Linked DNA regions of Homo sapiens: all the other regions are linked to region 2. The links are contacts of gene promoters, found by promoter capture Hi-C in blood cells and fetal thymus (Javierre and others, 2016). All regions are on one chromosome and are shown on one strand. Each heading gives the region's core, a stretch centred on a gene start or on the middle of the fragment in contact. The rest is flanking DNA. Distances are from core to core; before and after follow the strand shown. Region 1 overlaps TYW3 (tRNA-yW synthesizing protein 3 homolog). Region 2 holds the start of ACADM (acyl-CoA dehydrogenase medium chain). Region 3 overlaps TYW3 (tRNA-yW synthesizing protein 3 homolog).

Region 1 (3,784 bases), core at 1,087-3,586, 960 kb after region 2:
AGGAGCTAGTACTTGAACGGCTAAGTGTTGTCCTGTGGGAATGTGAGACGGCTCCAGCCAGATCTTCCAATTAAAAAAACACACACAAAACAAACTAGAGATGCGCTTTATAGTTTTAAATATTAAATCATCATATTTTAAAATGTTGATTCAATTAGAAAAAATATACTCCATGTGGGCCAAACAAAACATATCTGCTTGGCCATAACTTGGACAAGTTACAGCTTATGACTTCTGGCCTAGAACCTCAAAAGCAAAAGCATGTTCCTTAGTTTCCCTCCTTGTTTTTCAATAAGGTTGACTTCATTTTTCCTCTCTCTTTTAGAACACAAAAGCAGTTAACTTGTAGGTGATATGAGGAATCCAGACCGTAGGAATAAATGCTTGCCTTCATCCTGAAGGAAGGAAAAAAATCATTTTATTTTGGATGGAGCCACTACAATGAAAACAAATATAATGCCATTCTCAATAGGCAGGTTATGGTGTGTATTAAATTATTACTAAACTGCTGTGTTTCAGTTATTGATATTGGTGATCAGGCATAAATAAAACACATAAATAAAATAGTTGTGTGTTGTTTAACAATAGAAACATGTTCTGAGAAATGGGTTGTAAGGTGATTTAGTCACGCAAACATCACTACTGGGCCTACATGGTGGAGCCTATTGCTTCTAGGGTACAAACCCGTACAGCATGTTAGTGTGCTGACTACTGTAGGCAATTGTAACACAATGATAAGTATTTATGTATTTAAACATATCTAAACATAGAAAAGGTACAATTAAGATATAGTATAACAGGTGAAAAATAGCACATCTGTGCAGGGCACATACCATGAATGGAGCTTGCAGTACTGGAAGTTGCTCTGGGTGAGTCACTGAGTGGTGAGTGAATGTGAAGGCCTAGGATGTTCTGTATAAACGTATTACTGTATAAACTTTATAAACACTGGACACTAAGACTACACAAAATTTCATTAAAAATGTTTTATTTCTTCAATAAATTAACCTTGGCTCACAATGAACATTTGGTTTATAAACTTTAATTTCTTAAAACTTTTTGACTCTTTGGTAATAATGCTTAGCTTATTGTACAGCTGTACAAAATATTTCTTTATATCCTTATTCTATAAGCTTTTTTATATATTTTTTTTAACATTGGAAAAACCTTTTTGTGAAAAACTAAGATATAAACACACACATTAGCCTAAGCCTACACAGGGTCAGAATCCTCAGTATCACTGTCTTCCTCCTCCACATCTTGTACCACTGGAAGGTCTTCAGGGGCAATAACACACATGAAGCTGTCACCTTCTATGATAACAATGCCTTCTTCTGGAGTACTTCCTGAAGGACCTGTCAGAAGCTGTTTTACAGTTAACATTTTAAGTAGTATACCCTAAAATAATGATAAAAAGCATAGCAAAGACACAAACCAGTAACATATTATCAAGTATTATGTATGCACTGTACATAATTATATGTACCATACTTTTATATGACTGTCACCACAAACGTGGGTAATGTGTTGTGCTACAGCTTTACAATGACCACATCACTAGCAATAGGAATTTTTCAGGTCCATTATAATCTTATGGGGCCACCATATCGTATATGGTATATGGTCCATCATTGATGATTAAAATGTTATGTAGCTCATGAATGTATATTAAGGAATGTTAAGGAGTGAATGGGATTCAATGTCTTCTTAGGTTTATGGCCAGCACCTGGTGTCTCCTCTCTACTAACCTTATATAAACAGATTATACTATACTATACCTTATATAAACAGATTAGGAAGCAGCCCCTCTCTTCTTAATTCTCATTCATATATTCAGTTTATGGAATCTTTAAAATACATAGTTTTCTTGGAGATCAATTTAAATGAATGAAGAAAAGTCAATGAGCCTCTTAGATTTTAAAACTGCAGAATGTGTTGTCATTTCACCACAGGATAGGCTCGTTCCACCTGCACTCTCTCTTTCCTACTGTTATTTATAACTTTTTTTTTTATTCATTTATCTTCTCTTTTCATTTACTGCACTGCCAGGCAGATACTTTCATATTCTGTCCACCAGACTAGAAGAAATGCTCCAGGCATTCCGACACTGTGAGTTCCCTTTCCTGCCCAAATTTCCTTCCCAGAAGGACTGCTGTATATGTTGGTAGATAAGAATGTGCACTGCACAACTTCGAGTGCCACTGACATTGTCATCTAGGGGAATGTTCCCTCCCAAGTGGTACAGAGTTCAACTTACATAGCTGAACGAGTTGCCATGCTTTCCTGGAAACTGCCTTAGACCCAATGGTAAGGACTATAACTTACCTAAGCTCTTGCTTATTCTCCTATAAAGTGTACACATGAAATCCCTGGCACAGGTACACTGCAACATCTGTTCATGTGACCCTTTTTCTTTTCATTAGAAAAATCTTCAATTCCTCCTCAAATGCTGTCTCCAGGAATAAGTCTGTTATCAGTGGGTTCTAAAAGTGCTGGACTGATTTTATCAGAACCACTTGGATGAGTTGTGTGAAAAATAAAGATTCCTAGACTCCAGGATTAAGATTCTGGTTTGGAAGATCTGCGGCAGGGCCTATTAAAGTAGCATCTCCATGCCTCGTCCTGACCTAGGTAATTCTGATATGCAGCCATATTAAGGAAACACTGTCTACCTCCATGCTAGATTAGAACGGCCCTTCACAGTTGGGCATCAACTACCTTGACTCGCATCACATGCTGTGTTTCAGCCTTTCTGGACTATTCCCCATCACTGACTATACCATGCTTTTTGATGCCTCATATCCATTATATACCCTTTGTCTGCGAGAGGTTTTCTGATTTTTCCCATCATGTGAACTTGTATCTTGTCCTTTTAGTCCTAAATGAAATGGTATCTCCTTGAACTGGAATTCCAGTACTTCCTCACCTGTAATCAATTATTCCCAAATCTTTGTTCCTATAATAATACGTATTATTGAAGTGATACTTAAAAGTTACATGTCCCTAAAAGAATGTTTAAAACTATGTATTTACATCATTAATTTAGTTTATAGCATAAGTTTAAATCACAACCAAAGATATAATTTCTGGCATATCAACTATAATGCTAATTTCCAGCATTAAAATATCCACTATTATTTAAAATAAAGGTCTTTTTACTTAAAATATTTATGCTATCCCTTTTCAAAATGTATCCAAAATAATCTAAATACCTGTCTTAGGTCAGGTTATTTCAGAATAAGACACCATTCAAACATCTTTGATTTATTAAGCAGGTGCTTCTGGGAGAAACTGGTAAAAAAGTAGGGATAACTATAGCATTTCAGGTGAAGTCGTAGGATAAGCCGGGTACTGCTGAGAGCTTAGATGACAACTGCACATCCTCTGGGCAACAAAGTTATAGTTTGAAGCTCTGCACTTGTCATTACTGGCTTATGAATGGCTGATACACTCAACAAACTAAAATACTCTTATGAAGAGCAGCTTTATAAAACCTACTAGAAACATTACGGCCAAGACACATCAGAACCAAAGCTTAGTAATCTTCAGGGAAGATGGTAACATTGATTCCTAGATCATCATCATCATCATTTTCAAGTTCTTCATCACTTTCTTTAGTAATACACTGGGCACGTGTTTTTTCTGGGTTTCTTTTTTTCTTATGAATATATGATGAGTTATTTTTCTCTTTGATCTTGGGATGTAAGTTAGTCATCGTTTCCCTTTCCAAAGCATGCTGTAGGCAGTTGTAAAACCTGTGAAGAAATAAGTACTACTATTATAT
Region 2 (3,742 bases), core at 338-2,837:
CTGGGATTACAGGCATATGCTACCATGCCCAGCTAATTTTTCCTATTTTTAGTAAAGACAGGGTTTCCCTGCTTTGGCCAGGCTGGTCTCGAACTCCTGGCCTTAAGTGATCAACCCGCCGAGGCCTCCCAAGGTGCTAGGATCACAACCGTGAGCCGCCGCACCTGGCCAACCGAGGGAATTTAAATAGGGAAAAAGTCACTTCACATGTGACTGTTCAGGAAAATATGTTACATAGAACAAAGTGCAAAGGTTGCTATTACCAGAATACAATGCCCATCAACCTGTTAATTACATAACAAAGTTAGCCAGTTAATTAGAGAGGTGGTTTGCAAATAGAAAACAGAAACAGCACGGGATCTGGAGTTATAATTGCTGAATGTGAATCTAGGTTCCACAACCATATTTGTGGCCGTAGACAGGTTTACAAACTGCTTATAGCTTCCGTTCAAAACCAAAAAATGGGACTAATCTCACTGCGTATTTTCGGACGATTAAAGTACGATAATGTTTTGAAAGCCTAATGCTATATAACTATTGGTTTTATTACTTCGGGCTCTCTGTCTAGAACAATGAAATTCCAAATATCGAAACAGCACCACTAGAATTGAACACTTTTGTGCATTTCTTGGGAATATAAGAGTGTCAGTTTTATGGGTTAAAGAAGAGAAAAAGGGTGTAAGTTTTCTATATCAGGTTTTTTTTAGATCCTTCCTTGGAGGTTGAGAAATCTGCTTTTCTGGTGTAGGAGTTAAAAATAGCTGAAATCTCCCAATTTCTGCCTTCACTGCACATTAACTTGCATAACACCAGCAAAACATGGGCAGCAATTCTTTAGGATTATTCTAAAACCGCAGCTTTTTTGGTCCAAGACATAACTTTAACTTAATTTTAAGTGACATCTAAATGGCAGTGGTGTGAACATATCAAGAATATTTAAGATACCAAAATTCATCTAGTGACAAACTTATTTAGAATCTATTAAGATCCAATACTAGAATATACACACAAGTTCACATAAAATTCTGCAGGTTTTTTTTTTACTTTTTTTTTTCCCGTAAGCAACGTGGAAACGTTACAACGAAAAGCTTATTAAACATTAAGTATTTCAAGGAGTAGCTGCTCCATTTTTCTTTTTCCCGTGGTTCTGACACAGAGACGGGGTCACTTTGGAAAAAGGTGGGATTCCCGCGGTAAATATTTGGAGGGTTTACCAGAGAAAGAAAAACGATATTCTAAAGAGAGGATGCCGGCTATAACGGGGTCGCCTGACGGGAGGATACGGAAAATGAAACGCTAGGCTACGTTCCGTCCGGTGGTAGGAGGCGTGAAAGCAGGTTGGGGGCCCCTAGGCTGGCTCCTTCCTCAGCCCGACTTCCCACTCCTCCCGGCCGCACCTATTTTTGGCCCAGGGCCCCCTGCTCCGACACCACAATACCCATGTTCCAGCCCCACCGCACCGCTGGGCTCCCTCTCACCCTGCAGCATCGCCCGAACCCCGCTGCCATGTTGGCTCCCGTTCCGGCCACTCGGACAATAATACACGGGTCACGGCCTTGACATACTCCCCGAACGCGGGACTCCTCTGGTCCCGCCCACTGGAGCCCGTGGGCGGGATGGGGCGGGGCGGGAAGAGGCGGTTGGGCTGCGGAAGGACGGGGCGCTGCGCTAGGCGGGGTGGCAGCGGTCCCCGGCGCCGGGTAGCCAACGCATGCTCCGTGACCCTTGCGTGCGCCGTCGCTGCGACCTGGGGAGGGGTCGCATCCCCTCTCCGGGCAATCTCTGATAGTCCTGGTTTGGTTTTCTGCGTTTCCACCTCTGGCCCTCTCTGTGGGACGCCGAGGCTGACCGCAGCGCGGAAAGAGAGCCAGGGCGGGGGAGGGGGACGGCGGCGGGGCTGGGAGGGCCCGGTTGCGCTGAACGGTGGGGGGACTTGCGGCGCGGTGCAGGACGGGAACCTGGGTTAGAGGGCGTGGCTGGGGCCTGGAGGGAGAGCGGCCCCCGTGGTCAGCCTTCACCTTTACCCGGAGAGAACGGTCAAACCCAGATCGTGTCTGCTTGGCGGATTCAAAGTATTAGTACATTTTGCTCTCAAATGCCCTACCTAAAGCGAAAGCATACTTGTGTTTCCTTAAAATTTAAAAGAGAATTTAATTGTTTAGGTAAATTTGACCTTTCCGCGTATTCCCAAGGCTGTTTATGACTTGTCCGCTGATGTGGTGTCCTTGGATATGCGGGTGCAATCCGAGGCTGTCCAAAGCTCCTGGTTCAGCGAATGATGGAAGTGAATGTCTCCCTGAGGAATTCTACCTGGAGTCACTTTCTCTTCCAGTGAGACCCTGAGTTTTGAGATGGTAGCTTATACTAAATCTTATACTAACTTAACATTTTCTTTTGCCCAATAAAGGTCACCCATAAATTCATCTAATTTAGCTGTTAAAATTCTATATCCTGTTATTGTATTCCCCTACTTTGTCTTCTGGGAATTTATAGTGTGTTAGTCCTAGGTACAAGGCAGAATGTTAATTAAGCGCTATATTCAAAGTGAAAGTACCAGGAAAATTCGGAAAAGGGATAAAGAGCTGAGTTTGTCCTGGTATAGGCAAGAAAGCCTTCAAAGTGGTGGTGGTAAGTAAAACACAAAGCGGACTCTTAAAGATGATTAGGAATTGTCTATTCATGTCTCCTTTGTTCCAATTTCTTATTCTGAACATTTTAAACACAGAAAAGATGAACGAAAAGCACAAAATCACCCATATGCCTATTGTAACCCCTTCTTACTGTACACGTGGCTGGCAGAGAAGCGAAGATGGAGCCCTCATCTTAAACATGTCTAGTCGGTAGTTCCTGCCACCATTCACCCAAGCAAGCTACCCCCTTGTTTGTCTGTGCCTGCAGCTCGACTTCACAGGCTGCTCTTAGAAAAGGATTTGGGGCTGCTTTTCATTAAAAAGAAAAGCCTTACTGATGTTGGGAACGGGCGCTCAGTGTTGCAAAAATCAACACTGAGACAAAGGAGCTCTTAGCAAGGCTAGTTTACTTTCTGCAGAAAGGTTGCCGCTCGCTAGTAGTCTTGCCACGAGAGCACACACGCATAAAGGAGACAGGGTCATTTATAACCTGACACGTGCACCCTACTACCGTGTCCGGTTTCCATTGGCTGGAAGGGGACCTCTGTACTTGTCCTGATTGGCTAGCAACTTAGAACTTTCCAAAAGAGGCAAAGACAGAGGAGAACAAAGGAAGGAGGAAGCAACTTGTGGAATGCTGAGAAAGGTAAAAACACCTCCAGATAAGGAAGAAAACAGGCTATGGCCTAATGCTTCCTTGGACCAGTATAAGCATGCCAGGGCAAATATCTAGGCTAAAATGTGGCAGCTAAGAGCACAAAGTACATTGATTTCTTTATTACGGCCAACAGATATCAAAGAATGTTAGTGTGGCCAACTGCCACGGTTACTACTTGAGACCATCGTTACAGCAGTTACTACTGTTACTGCTTGAGACCATCATTGTGAGATCAAATGAAGGGACGAACGTAGAAATGATAACTTAAGACAAAAGGAACTGTTTTAAGGAAAGGGCCAGGGGAAGAAGAAGAGAGCTCCCTGCTTCTCGTGAGCAAAGGCAGCCACAGAGCTTCCACAGCCCTTCCTATTTTTTGGGTAACAGGAGCAGGGAGGAGGTGGTAACGATTGGTCAGCTGCTTAATTGATCACAGGTTCATATTGTTACTGACAGG
Region 3 (3,791 bases), core at 1,089-3,588, 990 kb after region 2:
ACTAAAAAGGCTCTTACCTCTGATCCTGAGGAAAAACCCATTCCTCCTTAAAAAATATAAGTGAAAACCTACATAATCTTTAACACCTCTCTTTACCCCTTTAATGGAATCCTTTTACTATTTCATCATATTTTCTAGCAGCATACTAACCATACTCTTTGTGATAGGACTATATACTGTAGCCAAACGAGCTCAACTAACAACTTCTACCGAGGACCCCTGGACGGACCCACTGGCCCTTTCACTGGTCTAAAGAGTTCCCCTCTGGAGGACACTACAACTGCAGGGCCCCTTCTTCACCCCTATCCAGCAGGAAGTAGCTAGAGCCGTCATCGCCAAATTCCCAGCAGCAGTTGAGGTGTCCTGTTTAGAGGGTGGATTGAGAGATGAAGCCAGCTGGACTTTCTGGGTCAAGTGGGGACTTGGAGAACTTTTCTGTCTAGCTAGAGGACTGCAAATGCACCAATCAGCACTCTGTAAAAACGCACCAATTAGCGCTCTGTGTGTAGCTAAAGGACTGTAAATGCACCAATCAGCACTCTGTAAAAATGCACCAATCAGCGCTCTGTGTCTAGCTAAAGGATTGTAAACGCACCAATCAGCACTCTGTAAAAATGCACCAATCAGCGCTCTGTGTCTAGCTAAAGGATTGTAAACGCACCAATCAGCACTCTGTAAAAACGCACCAATCAGCGCTCTATGTCTAGCTAAAGGATTGTAAATGCACCAATCTGCACTCTGTAAAATGGACCAATCAGCTGTCTGTAAAAGCGACCAATCAGCAGGATGTGGGTGGGGCCAAATAAGGGAATAAAAACTGTCCACCCGAGCCAGCAGCAGCAACCCACTTGAGTCCCCTTCCAAGCTGCAGAAGCTTTATTCTTTCACTCTTAATAAATCTTGCTGCTGCTCAGTCTTTGGGTCTGCATTACCATTATGAGCTGTTAACACTCACTGTGGAAGTCTGCGGCTTCATTTCTGAAATCAGCAAGACCACGAACCCACTGGGAGGAACAAACAACTCTGGACATGCCACCTTTAAGAGCTGTAACACTCACTGCGAAGGTCTGCAGCTTCACTCCTGAAGTCAGCAAGACCACGAACCCACTGGAAGGAAGAAACTCCGGACACATCTGAACATCTGAAGGAACAAACTCCGGACATACCATCTTTAAGAACTGTCACACTCACTGCGAGGGTCCACGGCTTCATTCTTGAAGTCAGCGAGACCAATAACCCACTGGAAGGAACCAATTCTGGACACACTTCAACTTCAGCACACCCCATCTGGATAAAGGCGACTACCATACAGCTAGGGGCTCCAGCCAGACCTAAGTAGTTATCCTTGATTCCTCTTTCTCCTCCTCCCTCTGGCTGTCCTTCCCCAGACAACCTTACAATTCTGTTGATTCAAATGCTGAAATACATATTGAATCTATTCCTTTCTCACCTGCTTTGGTGCTATCACCTTACACCAACCTATCACCACAAACTACTCCTAACTCGTATCTTTTCACTTACTGCACTCCTTTCTCTATGCTGAAGCAGAACTGAGTTTTTCAGAACAAAAACCTAGAAAGCCACTCTTTGCTTAAAACTGTCCCTTCAATAACTTTTCCCTGAACTCAGAAAGAAATTCAAACTCTTTAATCTGGTCTACAAAGCCTTAAATGACCTGGCCCCAGCCTCCTTCTGGCACCTTCTTTCCACTCTCTAGACCCACTGAAACTTTGTATATACTTTTCCATCTTCATGGAATGTTCATTTCCCAGCTACATGCCTAGCTCTTTCTGTTCCTTTAAGTCTTAGCTTAAAGAAAGCTTTTCAGAGAAGCCTATCTTCAAGTGAGCTGCTTTTTGCACTGTTCTCTATTACCAGGTTGTTTTTTCCTTCGGTAGAACATTTTGCAACTTGCAGTTTGTTTTTTGTTTTTTTGCCAGTTCACTTGTTTGTTTTTGCTGTCTCCTAACTTTGGAAGAGGAACCAAGACAGTCTTTAATCTTGTTCATCACTGTGCCCCTAGTACTTGACACACTGAGACTCAATACATTATTGTTGCTTAAAATGCAATTCAGTTTTATATATAAATATATAAAAGGTATAAAAAGGAGAATCAAGACTAAACAGATGTTTACCTCATGCATGCTCATTTAAATGGGAAAAATGAAATATTCTTTAAAACTCTTAATTTTACATGTAGTTCCACAGTATTTTTTCTTAAAGCTTGGCAAACAAAAACAAACTATAGAATGCTGAAGTAAAATTTATAAATAAAAACGTTAAGAAAGAAAACAGGAAGCATAACCTGGGACTTATATTTTCCTAGCAATGATTAGCTACTCTTTTTTTCTAATATTAAAAATTAATAGATTGAGCAGACCAATAAATAATATATACATAACTAGTTGAATAAGGTAATATCTCATTGATATTTATAGCAGGTTAAAAGCTTAAAATTACATCTACCCACATATCTATAAATTCAAGTACAATTACAACAAAATTTTACCAGAATCTGTGCATCCTGCAATTGTCGACACTGCACATGAAGAACAAATGGTTCAAATTTCAAAGTGGCATCACCATTTGCTTTCTTCAGAGCTACAATCTAAATAAATGAACAGTGGTATCAGATGCAAGTATATGGCCTGTCCTTTGGCGACCCTTTACCCCATACATAACTTCAATTTCTCTTAGAAATTTTCAGAATCACTCAGCATATTTTTTCTGCAGTAACTTTTCCCTCTGCTTTCTTGGTCCTTTTTCACCAAAAATTTATTTGCTTATTTTCTTAAAATTTCTAGTTCTCCCGTAAATCTTCTATACCATTCTTTCCACCTATTAGTGTGCTTTGAAGAAGTAAACTACTACTTTATTTAATTCCATAACGGATTTTTCATTAGGAAATGTAGTATACAAAAACTGTATTAGGATTGTTTAAATTTTTTGTTAGATTGAGATAGAGACAAATGTAATGTGAGAGAAGGGTCCAAACAAAGCCTAACTGCCACCCATGTTCCCAAGAAGCATCCTGTACCAAGCACCAGTGCTTACCAGCAGCACTAGTAAGCTCACAAATAGCAGTGCATGCAAAGAGCTCAGAGCACAGCCAGTGAGTTCCTGTTCCCTCTGTAACAGGCACAGTTGTTGTAACAATTGCAACTTGCAGTTTTTTTGTTTGTTTTTTTTTCCCTGTTCACTTGTTTGTTTTTGCTATCTCCTAACTTTGGGAGAGGAACCTTGGAACTGCTCAGCTACATGAGAACCAATGGCCCCTGAGCACGTTCCTAGCTTTCTGTATTTCAGACCCTATGGGGCAGTGTTCAGGGTCTGGGAGCTACTGCAGCACAAAGTGGGGTACATGCCATCACTCTGCCCTGATCAGCTGTGGAACCAATCTGCTAGCCATGGGGACTGACACATTGCAAAGGGCTAGATCTTGTGTAGTCTCTTCCCTCCTGCTATAAGCAAATGTTACAACACTTGAGCCTAGTATGCGTGTTTTTTGTTAGTGACCTTGAGTCAGGTACTAGTCTCTTCCCTAGGTAGCACTTGCCTGCCTTTTAACCTTGGCTGCACCCATGTTACAGTGTATCCTGCGGCGTAGTCTGACCACCTAGTGAAACATGTAATATTGTGTCTGAGCTAGAATTTATACAAGACAGTTATTATTTCTGTCTGCCCAGCATCCCCGGGCAACATCGTCCTGCCTTCACACCATTTGATTTCTGGTGGGGCTGTCAATCATTACCCTGTCACACATCACTCTCCCTATCACAATATCAGAGGTG

What was found. The method cuts DNA at HindIII sites, captures the fragments that hold promoters and counts their contacts. A CHiCAGO score of 5 or more calls a contact.
Region 1: a contact is called between a fragment that was not itself captured here and the fragment with the promoter of ACADM in region 2, in 1 of 17 cell types (M2 macrophages). The highest score is 6.3, in M2 macrophages.
Region 3: a fragment that was not itself captured here is called in contact with the fragment with the promoter of ACADM in region 2 in 1 of 17 cell types (M0 macrophages); the score reaches 6.4 in M0 macrophages.

Annotation. Positions count from the first base shown.
Region 1 is chr1:74,763,865-74,767,648 of GRCh38, reverse strand. It overlaps TYW3 (tRNA-yW synthesizing protein 3 homolog), which reads right to left. Exons shown (of 6, transcript NM_138467.3): 6 at 972-3,755. The coding sequence ends at 3,536. Among named protein-coding and RNA genes, the nearest start is that of TYW3, 33 kb to the right of the region's middle. The HindIII fragment of the contact is 2,401 bases long and covers 1,136-3,536 here.
Region 2 is chr1:75,722,554-75,726,295 of GRCh38, reverse strand. ACADM (acyl-CoA dehydrogenase medium chain) reads right to left here and starts at 1,587. Exons shown (of 12, transcript NM_000016.6): 1 at 1,479-1,587. The coding sequence starts at 1,508. It also overlaps a transcript of SLC44A5 not described here. RefSeq lists enhancers at 1,372-1,461, 2,112-2,201 and silencers at 1,592-1,641, 1,692-1,741. The HindIII fragment of the contact is 3,396 bases long and covers 1,091-3,742 here.
Region 3 is chr1:74,737,507-74,741,297 of GRCh38, reverse strand. It overlaps TYW3 (tRNA-yW synthesizing protein 3 homolog), which reads right to left. Exons shown (of 6, transcript NM_138467.3): 3 at 2,510-2,608. Among named protein-coding and RNA genes, the nearest start is that of TYW3, 6.2 kb to the right of the region's middle. The HindIII fragment of the contact is 226 bases long and covers 2,226-2,451 here.